2 separate regions of the Homo sapiens genome follow, and region 1 is linked to region 2. Evidence: promoter capture Hi-C in human tissues and cell types (Jung and others, 2019). All regions are on one chromosome and are shown on one strand. The core of a region is centred on a gene start or on the middle of the fragment in contact, and the rest is flanking DNA. Distances in the headings are between cores, read along the strand shown.

Region 1 (6,957 bases), core at 3,162-5,661, 290 kb after region 2:
CAAATGATGTAAAAAAAAAATGAAAGCAGCTTAACCCTGTGCTCATCTGTCTTACATAGTGTTATGTTAAAATTCAACTTTCCCAAGATGTGTTACGCATTGTTGCCTACCGTTCACCTTTGTGATATTCAAACACATTGGGGCTAAATCATGTTCAAATGTCTTGTTTTCAATCTAATAGCACCTAAATGAAGTAATCACAGTGTAGTGTTCTAATTACTAGATATAATTACAACCTTGTGAATTTTTTTTAACACTGTTCATTATAATAACTTACTAGAAAACACAGACTGAAATCTCTTTTTTTCCTCAAACTATTTTCAAATTGGCCCATATCTGCCCGGCCATCTCGTTGCATTCCCTGGGAGGTGGTGTGGCCTGAAGTGTGTTGGGGTCAAAGCCCAAGTCACTTTACCTCCCCGAGTCTCCACTTCCTAATCTGTGAAGTGGGGATAGAGACCTGCCTTCTTTCCGGGTTGCCAGTGGGGAGGTGTAAATGAGATGGCTGATGTAATACACGTTTTTAAACAGCCCACACAATGGTCAGGGGGCGGGTGCGCATCTTTGTGACGAGTTCTGGCAGGCTCCCTCCTCGATTCAGAGCCAGCGGAGCAGGTTGGGAGGTGAAGCCGGAGCAGGGCTGGGCGAGGCGGGGGCGAGGCGAGGAGGAGCCCACCCCAACCCTCGTGTTCAAAAGCTCCCTCCTCACCCCTTCTTGTCTTGTGTCTAGAAAGAAGCCGGCGCGGAGACGCCATCTTTTTACTCTGCTCTGCTGCGTATTCAGCCCAAAATTGTGCACTGCTGGAGGCCAATGCGGCGCACGTTCAAAAGCTATGATGAGGCTGGAACAGGGCTGCTAAGCGTCGCAGATTTCAGGACGGTGAGCACAGCTCTGCGCCCAGTGCCTCTGCAGGGAGCAGCTGCCAAATGCCAGCGGCCAGAAACTTCCCACGGGGAGCCCTCTACCTGCTGCCGAAGGCCCGGTGTGACCTGGCTGCTTCAGATCTCACTTCCCTGGGACCCCCAAGTTATCCAGTCCTGGGTCCACTCGCCTCACCTTCAGACCCCGGGTTCTCCTTCCCAAAGGTTGCTGGAGCCCTGCGTGGATGCCCCATACCTGCATCGCCAGCTCCTCAGGGTCAGTGCCTGAGCCCAGGTTCCTTAAGGCACTGCCATCACTGCTGCTGCTGCTCCGAGCCCTCTCCCCACACCTGGGCTCTCCTGCAGGCTCTGAAGAGCATCTCTGACCTATGTTGGACCTTCCAAGGGGCCTGCAAAGTGAGCCCTGCCCCTGCAGTACACAGCGGGGCTCCACCATTGGGCATCTGCCCTGATGTCCCTGGGTGCCCTCCATGTCCCACCCCCAGAGCCTAACAAACACCCCGCAGTGGTTTTCCAATCCACATTCACGTTCCTCTTTCCTTCGGGGTTAAGTATAAATCTCAGTCAGGGATTCTCCCTATCCCTCATGCAAAGAAAGGAAGGAAGTAGGGCAGGTTCTGTTATTCCCTTCCGGCAACTTCCCAGGAATTCGGGCGTGGTGCTGGGAAGGTGGCAAAAGAAACCTTGCCCTCCACAGAGTCACAGATCAGATGGCGTAATTGAGGGGCCGTCTCAGACACCAGGCTCAGCTTCCTTTTCTGCCTTCATCCCATGGGGCCCAATGGCCAGGCCTGCTGACCTCAGCCCCATAGGACCTCTGGGCCATCTAGCCCTGCTTTCCAGTCTCCTCCTAGAAACAAGTTATAACGCAAATGTGGATAGGAAATGTATGGCCTCATCTTTATATACTATGAGGGTCTGTCAGGATTTGTTTCAGCTTCACATAATGGGGCGGGGAAAATAGCAGCTTAAGGTGAAAGTTTATTTCACTCCCACATAAAAGAAGTCCAGAGGTAGGAAGGTCAGAGCTGGTGTGGTGGCTGGACAATCATCAGGGACCACATTTTTGCTCTGCTGTTCTCAACTCCTGGCTTCCTTCCTCTAGGCCACCTCATGATCCAAGGTGGCTGCTGGAGCCCCAGCATCACAGCCATATTCCAGGCAGCAGGTGGAAAAACAGGAGAGAAAAGGGCATGCCCCTCTCCTTTAAAGGAGGCTTCCTGGATGTTCTACATAACATTCTTACTTAGCTTCTCAGGCCAGAACATACCTAGCTGCAAGAGAGGCTGAGACATGTTCCCGGTTAGCTGGATACAGAGGAGCTGGGAGAGAGTCAGGTTCTATAACTGAAGAGGAAGGGGCAGTCAGTATTGGGTTTACCACCAGCAGGCTCTGCTCCAGGCTCTGTTACGGTCTTATCACAGCAACTCTCTGCACTCAGCACCCACTGGCCCTGCCCTCCCCTGCCTGGGCGCACCCTGAGGCTCTGCCCCAAGTTAGGGCTGCATGGCCAGGTCTCCCCTTGAGCCCCCACCTCTCTGATCATCAGCCTTGTCTGAATACGTTGACCAGCCTTCAGCCCCTCAGGGAGGCAAAGGTGATCAACCTCCTGTCTGCTCCAGTTTCACACCCAGATGCACACAGGGCTGCCCTTGGAGGCTGCTTCCTGTTTGGGCAGAGGTTGAGAGGGCATAGAGAGAGCGCACAGATGGGAGGCTGACATCGGAAGTGGGGTTGGGGATCAGGTGGATGTGTCCCCCAGCCCCTTCCTGGCAGCCTGCCTCCTTAACCTAGGGCACCAAACAAGCCTCAGAGGCCCCTTTTCTCTGTCTTCCAGGTCCTGAGACAGTACAGCATCAACCTCTCTGAGGAAGAGTTCTTCCATATTCTGGAGTATTACGATAAGACGCTGTCTTCAAAAATCTCCTACAACGACTTCCTCCGGGCATTCCTCCAGTAGACACCCCTGCTGTGTGCCCAGCGGGACGACAGCCACAGGGCCTGTTTCAAGGCTAATAAAATCCTATAATTTGGGGGTTTCATGAATTTTCAAAAAAAACAAAACTCAAGCCCAAGCCCAGCCCGCCTGTCTCTGGGTCGGGGGTAGGCACAGCTGCCCTGGGTTCTGGCATAGGATGCTTGCTCTCCAGGTGCCAGGTGCTACCACTATGTCTTGGGCACCCTCACTTGTTAGTCTGAACAAATAATCTTTGCAAGAATGATTCTTGACACTATAAAATAATTACTAATGCTAACTTTTTTTTTTACACGGAGTTTGGCTCTTTTGCCCAGGCTGGAGTGAAGTGGCGCTATCGGCTCACTGCAACCTCCGCCCCCTGGGTTCAAGCAATTCTCCTGCCTCAGCCTCCCGAGTAGCCGGGATTACAGGCACCCACCACACCCGGCTAATTTTTGTATTTTTAATAGAGACAGGGTTTCGCCATGTTGGCCAGGCTGGTCTCGAACTCCTGACCTCAGGTGACCCACCCACCTCAGCCTTCCAAAGTGCTGGGATTGCAGGCATGAGCCTCTGCGCTAACATTCTTAAAAGCTTGGACTTTCCGGAGGTTTTGTTCATGGCCCCTGCCAGGTGTCTCCTCCAGTCCAGAGCAGTTGGGGCCCTGCACCCCATTACCCAAGGACTGCTGCCTCCTTTGACCCCCCAGCTTCCTGGGTCCTGGATCAGAGGACATCTGAGCCCCCTGCTGCAGTCAGGGTGGCCATGTCTCTGCTCCTAGAGGCACAGGCACTGACCGCCCCATCGCTGTCTTGCTCAGGGATGCCAGCCAGCCTGACTCCATGAAGAGCAACTCACGCCTGAGTGAGACCCCCTGGAGCTTTGGGCCTCCCTCCGCCTTCCTGAGCCCAAGCCTAGTGGCCACTGGCCGTAACCCCCACCAGGGACAGTTCTGAGAGGGCCCTTCCTTGGAACTGACAGGTTTGACAAGAGAAGTTTGAAAATCGTCACTCCGCTTTCATGGACTGTGACTCAGCTGAGAGACTCAGGCAGCGTTTGCCACCTTCTGGAAGGTTCTCCAAGGAACTGGGGAGCAGCAGGCAGGATATGGGGTGTGGGGGGAGCACCTCCCCTCCACCTGGGCCCCAGGCCTTGCCCACCAAAACGCCCTTCCCTGCCCCTGCACAGGGTCCAAATGAGGCCACACCCTGAGGTGAGCAGATCTCTCCCTGAGTGGCAGAGCCGCGCATTGGATGGGTGTGATTGGGAGGACAGGCTCCCGCCCAGCCCGCGCAGGCCTTCTATTTCCTGGAAAATGTTTCCTGGGGTCACCTTTGTTTCCATCTGTCCTTAGTTTCCTCCTCATTTCAGGCTGGACCGCTGCAGGGGGAACGGGGTGCTCAGGCAGCCCCAAGTTCAGGGAAGGGGAAGGGGACCCTGAGTAGGCACATCAACAGGGCCATGCAGTGATTACGGGACAGAGACGCCCTGGACCCCAGCTGCTCCTCCATGTGACTTTGTACCAGGTCCCATCCCTTCAGCGTCCTCATCTGTAGAAATGGTGGGACCACACTTGTGTCACCTTTGTTGTGGGACCTGGGCCTGTGGGCAGCAGATGTTCCCATGAGAGAGGCTTCAGCCCAGAATAAGGAAGGCCTGTGAGGGCCAGGGGCACCAGCCTGAGACTCCGGCCAGAGGCAGGGCAGTGTCAGCTCCCAGTGAACACAGGCATGCCAGACTCAGGCTGAGGACAGGCCAGTGCCAGCAGTCAGTGAGCACAGGTGTGCGGGACTCAGGCCGGGACAGGGCAGTATCAGCAGCCAGTGAGCACAGGTGTGCGGGACTCAGGCTGGGACAGGGCAGTATCAGCACCCAGTGAGCACAGGTGTGCAGGACTCAGGATGGTACAGGACAGTATCAGCGCCCAGTGAGCACAGGTGTGTGGGGCTCAGGCTGGGACAGGGCAGTATCAGCGCCCAGTGAGCACAGGTGTGCGGGGCTCAGGCTGGGACAGGGCAGTGCCAGCACCCAGTAAGCACAGGTGTGTGGGACTCAAACCCAGCGCTTCACACACATCATCATTTAGACTCCTGTGAGCATCCCCATTTGACAGATGAGGAAACTGAGGTACCGGAAGTTTTCCAGAGTCTCACAGCTTGCAGGATTTGGCCCAGACAGTGAGTAACAGCCCAAGCCAGTGTCAGAGGCCCTGAAGGTGGGCGGGCAGGCTCCCCTGCAGGCAGCACCAGGACTCACTCAGCCCTGTGCCCACATCCCTGCCTCCAAGCCCTGGCTCCTGCTGGCTCCTCCTTCTGGGACTACTTCTGTTCTCATCTGCACAGCCCGCGTACTCTTCCTCTGAGGCCCAGCTCCAATCCTCCTGTAACCCCTGGGCAGAGGCTGAGCTCCCCGTTCGATGCTGTCACCGCTTGGCAGAGAGAGTCACTCCCTTCTGCACCCACTGCTGGGCCCAGACTCCACCCATAGGGTGAGAACACTGACCTGCGCCCCCAGCCTGGCACACAGCAGGTGCTTTAATGCTGGCAGGGCACAGCCTCTGGGTCCCTTTCCCAGAAGGAAAGCTGACCAGGTTCTGCAGGGAGTGCTGGCAAGTTGGGGAGCAACTCTGGTGTTGGGGGCTTCTCTGTGGATGGAGTCTGTGAGTGCTGGACTCCCCATAGCACTAGGAGGTGGCTGTGGGGTCAGACCCACATTCTCTTGGCCACATCTCCCAGCTTCTGGCAAAACAAGTTCTGGATCTTCCCATGCATGTCCCACCAGCACTGCTGGCACCACACTCTGACATAACAGTTTTAAAATGCAGTCTCCCCTGTAAAAACAAATCAGGTGACACTGAGCTTTCAATGAGCTCTGGAAAGAAGGCTTGGCATCTGCCGGCTGTTATTCCAACCCCAGAAATTGAAAGTGTGTCCCCAAATTTGCAAAGTAACCTATTAAAATCCCCACCATGATGGAGGGTTGCATGCTTAGTGGTGAGGGGCAGATGGATGCCCTGCCCATGTGCCCTGCCTCAGCATTGGAGGCCCGACCTGGGTGCCCAGATCCCATCCTGTGTGCTGGACTTCAGCTTCCCCATGCTTGTTCTTACATATCTTTGCACTTGGCACCAGCAGTTTCTTCCACCTACTCCTCAGGAAATGCCGGGTATTCCTTCGAAACTCTCAAAGCCACCTCTTCCACGAAGCTTTCCTGACTTCCTGAGGCTGAGTCAGTACAATTAGTCTGAACCTGTTCAGCAGCCTTGAGGGTCCATCATTTTTAAGGGTTGAAGAAGGAGGAGGAGAAAGAGGAAGGAAGAAAAGAACAAGAAATGCAACCGACTGCATGTATGTGGACCTCAAAGCCTAAAATATTTACTATCTGATCCTCCACAGAGCAAGTTTGCTGGGCCCTGCTATACAAATGTCTGGCTTTCAACAAAAAATTTTGAGGTATACCAAGGGCAATTATAAAAACAGTTTGAGAAGACAAAGCAATCACAAGAATCAGACTCAGACATGACAGATTTTGGAACCATTAGAAAAATGTTTAAATAACTGGTTTATGTGTTAGAGCGCTAATGGAAAAGAAAGACAACACACGACCAGCCAATTTCAGCAGAGAGATGAAAACTGCAAGAATCAGAAAGGCTAGAAATAAAAAAAACACAGTAATAAAGATGAAGATTGCCTTTGACAGGCTCGCTCATCAGTAGATTCTACATAACCAAGGAAAGAATGAGTGAGCTTGAAGATAGGTCAATAGCATGTATCTAAACCTAAATGCAGAGAGAAAAAGAGTGGGGAAAAATCGCAGAATATATAAGAGCTGTGGGACAGTATAAGATGGTCTAATATGGGGCCGGGCACAGTGGCTCATGCCTGTAATCCCAGCACTTTGGGAGGCCGAGGTGGGCAGATCATGAGGTCAGGAGTTCAAGACCAACATGGTGAAACCTCGTCTCTACTAAAAATACAAAAATCAGTGGGGTATGGTGGTGTGTGCCTGTAATCCCAGCTACTCAGGTGACTGAGGCAGGAGAATTGCTTGAACCCGGGAGGCAGAGGTTACAGTGAGCCGAGATCGCACCACTGCACTCCAGCCTGGGTGACAGAGCG
Region 2 (7,178 bases), core at 3,819-6,318:
CATGGTTTCCTTTTCAAGATTCTCATCAAAGGTCTTGAGCAGCAGACTCATGCCATGGGTGTAAATAGTACAGATGGTAACGGTTCCTCAGGAGGTGAGTTTACTGGCTTCAGTGATGCTGAATGGTATCTAGGAAAAGGTAGGACCCTCACCCACCAAATCCAGGCTTCAGCCTGTTGGAAGTGGACCCACTGCAGGGCACCTAAGGGAACCATCAATGTCTTCTGGGAAGTTTTTTTCAGAGAAGACAACAATCTCCTCCTACAAACTGTTCCTTGGGGCCACTGTCACATTATACAACTCTGGTCTGTTCCATCAAAGATCAAACCTTATTGAATAGATTTTAGGGGCTCATCTAGATAATAAATGAGGGAAATTTCAGTTTCTGTAAAAATTAAATCTGCACATGGAGGTGAGACGTTTCCTGGAACAAGGAAAACCCTCTGGATTGAAGATGATCTTTAAGGAGAAAAAAGAGAGAATCACGTGACAAAACTTCATGATGGACTCATCTAATTAGTCATTTCAACATATAGAAAAATTATCCTTGGGTTCAAGGAAATCAGCAAGGGTTTTGAGTTTCTGGGTTCTTGGCTACATTGATCCAGTTGTACACCACTTATGTGTGCGTCACTGTTACTGTTGTTTTTTTTTTTTTTTTTTTTTTGAGACGGAGTCTCGCTCTGTTGTCCAGGCTGGAGTGCAGTGGCGCAATCTTGGCTCACTGCAACCTCCGCCTCCCTGGTTCAAGCAATTCTCCTGCCTCAGCCTCCCAAGTAGCTGAGATTACAGGTGCCCACTACCACGCCTGACTAATCATTGTAGTTTTAGTAGAGATGGGATTTCACTATGTTGGCCAGGCTGGTCTCGAACTCCTGACCTCAGGTGATCCTCCTGCCACAGCCTCCCAAAGTGCTGGGATTACAGGCATGAGCCACCGTGCCCGGCCTGCTTCACTGTTGAGAGCAGGCCAGTGCAAAAGACATTAAGGTATTCCCTACTAGAATTCCATGTTTGCCCACACAGCCAGACATTGGCCAGGGTTTATCACCTAAAATTATCCCTCAGGTTCTTTTGGATTGAAGATGCTTCCAGGACTGTGAGACAATACATTTCTGTTGTCCAAGCTGCCCAGTCTGTGGAAATTTGTTACCGCAGCCCTATCTAATACAACTCCCTTTCTCAGATCCACTTAAACTGTGCACGTTTTGCCCCAATTGCTTTATTATTTGCTATCTATCAATACATAATTTTTTCAGAAGCATTTGAAAGTAAGTTACAGGCTGGGCACAGTGGCTCATGCCTGTAATCCCAGCACTTTGGAAGGCTGAGGCAGGCAGATCACTTGAGATCAGGAGTTCAAGACCAGCCTGGCCAACATGGTGAAACCCTATCTCTACTAAAAATACAAAAATTAGCTGGGCTTGGTGGTGTGTGCCCGTAATCCCAGCTACTTGGGAGGCTGAGGCAGCAGCATCGCTTGAACCCAGGAGGTGGAGGGTGCAGTGAGCTGAGATCGCATCACTACACTCCAGCCTGGGCAACACAGCGAGACTCTGTCACAAACAAACAAACAAAACACCAAAAACCATTAAAAAAATGGAATTATCTTTATTTTTTTTTTCCTAATGTCTTCTTATGATAGGATTAGGTGATGCATTCCAGATTAGAATACTACAGCAGTTGCCCTTTTCAACGGAGGTTGTCCTTCACATTACATCTGAAGCCACACAATGTCCATGCTCCTTGTTGGTAGTGTTAATTTTTATTATGGTATCCAAGCATTGTCCATTTTTCTTTTGTATTATGACTACTTTTTCTCCTGTAAGTAATAAGTGATCTGTGGGACTATCCTTTAAAACAATGCAAATATCCTGCTCCCCATCCAAAGAACCCCGAGATGAAGCACCCGTGAATGATCCTTGCCTGAATCAATCTTCACTCAGTGGTTGCAACATGATGGCTTTTCAGCTCTAGTCCTCCTGCATGACCATTTGTCCCTAGGCCTGCTACTGCAAGCACGTGCCCTCCCTTGTCCTGCATTTATTCTATCTGTCCATCGCTCCTGGGCCTGGACTCATGACTCCTATTTCTTTTACTGTCCTTCATTATTCTGGCCAGCAGGAGCCCCATTCAAGCTGGCTTCTGGGCTTTGTGACCATAGCGATCCTGGGGGGAGAATGAGGTTGAGGTTGTAGGATGGTCCCAGTGGCCCTGCATGCTGTTTTAAAGATTTTTATTTTTAGCATAAGAAGGCTTTTAAGGCAAGGTAGTGCAGGGGAACTTGGAGAGAATGGATGAGATTGCTACCATGTACGTATTCTGGTGTTAGAATCGACAAGACTTGCTGAAGCACTAGATATGGGGTATGAGGTAGTGATCATTGAGGGTAACAACAAGGCTTCCTAGTTTGAGCATTGCTTTGGAATAGGTGAGTGCGGGCAGGCACAGTAGCTCACACCTGTAATCCCAGCACTTTGGGAGGCCGAGGCAGGCGGATCACGAGGTCAGGAGTTCAAGACGAGCCTGGCCAACATGGTGAAACCCTGTCTCTACTAAAAATACAAAAATCAGCTGGGCATGGTGGCTCACGCCTGTAATCCCAGCTACTCGGGAGGCTGAGGCAGAGAATTGCTGAAACCTGGGAGGTGGAGGTTGCACTGAGTCGAGATCGCACCATTGCACTCCAGTCTAGGCGACAGAGCAAGACTCCGTCTCGAAAAAAAAAAAAAAGTAATAGGTGAGTGAGGGAGGTGAGTGGATCAAGGGCAATATGGATGGCTTAAGTCTGAGTGATCTCCAGTACATTCCAGTAGAGGGGTCAAGGCTGGTGAGAAGCATAACAGCAGGACCTACGACAGGGTCAGAGGGGCCCTAACATCCAAAGGCCACACAGAGGAGGGAAGTCACCAGTGGGGCCCAAGAATTGAGTAGTTGGTGTGGTATTAGAGAAGCCTGAAGTATTTCAGGCAGAAAGGAGTGATCAACTGGGCTGAATGCTACTGAGAGGTCAAGTAATGTACGGCCAAGTAGAGAAGAAGTATTTGTGAGAATGCCAGTTACCAGGCAATGAGAGTCACGCTTCTGTGAAATTTGGTAACTGAAAGACAGCATGTATAGACAGCTCTACTGAGAAGCAGGTTAAAGAGGAGCAGAGAAATGGGGTGGAAACCAGAAGATCATCTATTTTTTTTTTAAAGATGTGAGATACTAGAGCATGTTCCAAGAAGGAGGGAAAGAGAGAAAGAGAAAGAATGAGACTCTTGGCTATCATGAGAGAGGGAATAACTGAAGCCCTTTTGATCTCAGGACCAAACTTTTTGGCCTCAGGATCCATTCACACTCTTAAAAAGTATTGAGGATCCCAAAAAACTTTTATTTATGTTTATATCTATCAATATTTACCATGTTAGAAAATACAATTGATAAAAAATTTATTAACTCATTAAAAATAATAAACCCATTAGATGTTAACGTTCTCTAATGAAAAATTACACTTTCCAAAAAAGTGAAAAGAGGGGCAGTTTTCTATTTTTGCAGATCTCTTTAACATCTGGCTTAGTACAAGACCGCTGGATCTCTTACCTTCTTTTGCATTCAATTTGTTGCAATATCACACATCATGTAGCTTCTGGAAAATCCCCCCATATACTTATGAGAGAAAAACAATGAAAAAGCAAGTAAAGTCTTAAGTGTTATGAAAGTATTTTTTGGCCCCATGGACAGTCTGAAAGGGTCTCAGGATCCCCAGGGATTCCCAGACCACACTTAGAGCACTGCCTATAATAAAGAAGGCAAATGGGGAGGGATCCAGGACACAGTTAGAGGGACTGGCCTCTGTAAGAGACCCTCTTTTGGGGCAAGAGGAAAAGAGGCGATGAATGCCAAAGTGATTGTGAAGGAGTGCATTCCATTCTTATGCATTACATTTTCTCAATGGGATAAGACCCATGGTCATTGAGTCCGGTGAGGAAGTAGTGAGTGCGGGAGGTCTGAGACAAGCCATGGGAAAGAATTCTCTTGGTGAACAGGAAAACTAGCTGCCCAGTGAAGTAGTCAGAGTGCCCAGCAGGGACCGCATAGTATCCATCTTTGCAGCACACACCAGGGCACCTAATTGACCTGCCGCAGCCATGTGTGCAAGGAATTCCAAGCTGCACACGTCTGCCTGGCTGCTTCTCTCCCACAGTGAGCAGTGTGGCAGGGTGCCTAAGAGCAAGCTCCATAGGTTCTCATTCTGCTCCTACCCCTGACTGGCAGTGTGTCCTTGAACAAAATGCTCTGTGTGCCTCAGTTACCTATCTGTAAAATGGGAGTAACCACAGCACCCACCTCACAGGGTTGTTGTGAAGACAAATGAAGATGACAATTACATGTAAAGTACATACCTAGGATGGGTGAGTGCCTGGCAAGGGAAGTGCTCCATAGGGTCAGCGACAACAATTACATTCACTCACGTGATTTATGGCGCTTCCACTCGGCCCTCTGTCTTAGTAATAATTCACTCATTTAGCGAATATCAATGGAATGGATGCTTACTGTGGGTATGGGCGGAGGCTGAGGTTACAGCCTGGGCAAAGCAGGCCAGCTCCCGTCCTCACCGGCTGTCTCCTCGAGCAGACAAGCGGACCCAGTGAGACCCGCTACGTGGTGGCACAATGCGAGTCCCCATGACTGCTCACCCTAACGAAGGCGCAGGATGCGGTAGGGGCTTTGCGGACCTCACTGCAGCCAATCCTGACCACAGGCCCCAGTGGGCACGCTTAGCCTTTTACAGATGCAGAGTCTGCTTCTCAGAGCAGGGGGCTGACTTCCCCCGGCTACACGGCCCTATGCAGTTCGGTGGGACCGGGCCGACCGCCCAGCTCGCGCTAAAGCCCACGTAACAGAAACCCGCTCCCATGACACGGGTCGCCAGGGTTCCCGCTCCCCAGAGAACGGGACTTCCGGCGGAAATTTCTTCCGGGAGCGGAGGCGCGGGACTGACCTGGCCCCGCCCCCTCCTCGTTTATCTCCAATTGACCAATCACAGCTCAGCTTCTTGCCAGGCGCGTAGGCTCATTCTCCAGTCAGCGACTGCCGTCGTCTCTCGGGCAACAGCGTCCTAGAGACGCCGAATGGGCAGCCCCTCTGAGACCCCGCGGCTTGGGGTCCGCGCACGCGGGTGCCGGCCCAGCTAGGCGGAGAATCGAGGAGGGGTTCCCGGTAAGGCTGTATTCGGGGTGGCCACGCGCGTGCGACAGGCCGAGGAGGGGCCGGGCGGGCGGGCAGCTCCGTGGGTCTCACTGCCCTGAGAAGGCCGGCGCTGCTGCCCACCCCCAGGGACGAAGGGGTGGTGATTCGTTTATTCAGGTGTTCATGGCGCGTCTGCTTGTGCCAGGCATGTTGTAGGCCCTGGGGCCCTGTGGGGAACAGTAGGGCCCCTGTTCCCGTAGCTTACCTGATATGTGGAGAAGAACGATAAACAACGCTGACGGTGGTGACGTCTTCTTCCCTGCCTCTCTGTGAGAATCAGCTGGGAAATGTGTGTGGAAACGCCCTAAATCTCTCCAGTTTACAACATGTCTCATGCCCCTGATTTCATTTGTGCCCACAGCAGTCTTGTGAATGTCATGATTGACTCCCTCCTGTAGACAGACGAGGACTTGAAACCTGTGGGGTGAAGGGGCTTTTCCAAAGTCACACAACTATCTTAGGAAGTTTCTGAGCCAGAATTCAAACTCATTTCTGTATCACGGCAAAATCTCTGCTCTTTTACACTCTTCTCCCACAGCCTGCACATAATTACCCCTGCCTCCCTCAGAAATTTTGTTTGGAAGCACTTTGTGAGGTATACATCTGTATAGGGCTTACTTGAAGGTTGTCCAAATCACCCCTCTCTCTACTCCCTTCCTTTCTCTCCAAATCTTTGCCTTTCAGGATGTCTTGCCCCTGTTAAGAGGACTCTTCTTTTCTTTTCTTTTTTCTTTTCTTTTCTTTTCTCCCTCCCCTCCCCTCCCTTCCCTTCCCCTTTCTTCCCTTCCTCCCCTCCTCTCTCCTCCCCTCCCCTTCCCCTCCGCTCCCCTCCCCTTCCCTCCCCTCGCCTCTCCTTTTCTTTCCTGATGGAGTCTTCCTCTGTCACCCAGGCTGGAGTGCAGCGATCCCAGCTCACTGCAACCTCCACCTCCCGGGTTCAAGCGATTCTCGTGCCTCGGTGTCCCAAGTAGCTGGGATTACAGGCGCCTGCCACCACGCCCAGCTAATTTTTGTATTTTTAGTACAGACGGGATTTCACCATGTTGGCCAGGTTGGTTTCAAACTCCTGACCTCAAGTGATCCATCCGCCCGCCTTGGCCTAATTTAATATGTGTTCCTAAATGGGTGGCCTTAACAGAAATGCTGTAAATCAATTCTACTTTCATACACTACAGTTCATGTCTTTTATCCATTGCCTTCAATTCAGCAAACGTTTACTTGGCTAAGTTCTGGGGATATGAAAGTGAGTCAGAAATGGCCCCTTTGATTATATGTGAAGATATTTGCCTCCTATCCAGTCTTATTGCAAGATCCTTTGAGGATGAGGATTTTATTTTAGTTATCTGTGCTTTCCCTTTTTCCTCTATGCTTATTTTAATGCTTGGTTCATGATAGGTGATCATAGATATTTATCAAGAAGTGCTTACCTGAGACTGTAAATTTCGCTCTCCAGGGAAAAACTGCCCTGTTCCAGCTATCTACCTCTTCCCCTTGTACAGAGATCTCTATAGCACCCATGCTCTGATCTCTGCAGCTGACTGGCACCTGGAGACAGAACCAGCTCCATGAGGATGTTTAGTAGCCTGGTGCCTGCCCAGATCAGGAATCTGGTGAGAGGCCACTGGTTGTTAACAAGGCAGTTGTTAACAACTGAGACAGGTTTGAGAAAACTGTGAATAGAGATAACATGAATATGATACCCTTTCAGTATTAAAAGCTTCATTTTCTACTTTTGGTTTTGATCTTTCACTGCTATTTTGTTTACTTTGTTTCAGGTACCATTTGTTACTTTTTCTTTCCATCTATTTGTCCACAGTTTTACTACTTCTATTTCTACTACAGCAACTACTAATACTACTACTGGCTAATACTAATTGAACACTTACTGTGTGCCAAGCACAGTTTGGTCCCTCATACTTTTTAAATTTAGTCCTCACAAGTTG

What was found. The method cuts DNA at HindIII sites, captures the fragments that hold promoters and counts their contacts. A contact is called where the count stands out against the background at its distance.
Region 1: a contact is called between a fragment that was not itself captured here and the fragment with the promoter of EFCAB6 in region 2, in 2 of the 25 tissues and cell types used here (IMR-90 fibroblasts and dorsolateral prefrontal cortex).

Annotation. Positions count from the first base shown.
Region 1 is chr22:43,524,738-43,531,694 of GRCh38, reverse strand. The region is part of intron 2 of EFCAB6-AS1 (EFCAB6 antisense RNA 1); the gene reads right to left. It overlaps EFCAB6 (EF-hand calcium binding domain 6), which reads left to right. Exons shown (of 32, transcript NM_022785.4): 31 at 731-880; 32 at 2,720-2,917. The coding sequence ends at 2,842. Among named protein-coding and RNA genes, the nearest start is that of EFCAB6-AS1, 12 kb to the right of the region's middle. RefSeq lists an enhancer at 3,503-4,002. The HindIII fragment of the contact is 6,308 bases long and covers 1,258-6,957 here.
Region 2 is chr22:43,810,195-43,817,372 of GRCh38, reverse strand. It overlaps EFCAB6 (EF-hand calcium binding domain 6), which reads left to right and starts at 5,068. Exons shown (of 32, transcript NM_022785.4): 1 at 5,068-5,205. EFCAB6-DT (EFCAB6 divergent transcript) reads right to left here and starts at 4,951. Exons shown (of 2, transcript NR_186822.1): 1 at 4,389-4,951; 2 at 1-459. RefSeq lists enhancers at 3,661-4,462, 4,704-4,973 and a silencer at 5,305-5,546. The HindIII fragment of the contact is 13,383 bases long and covers 1-7,178 here.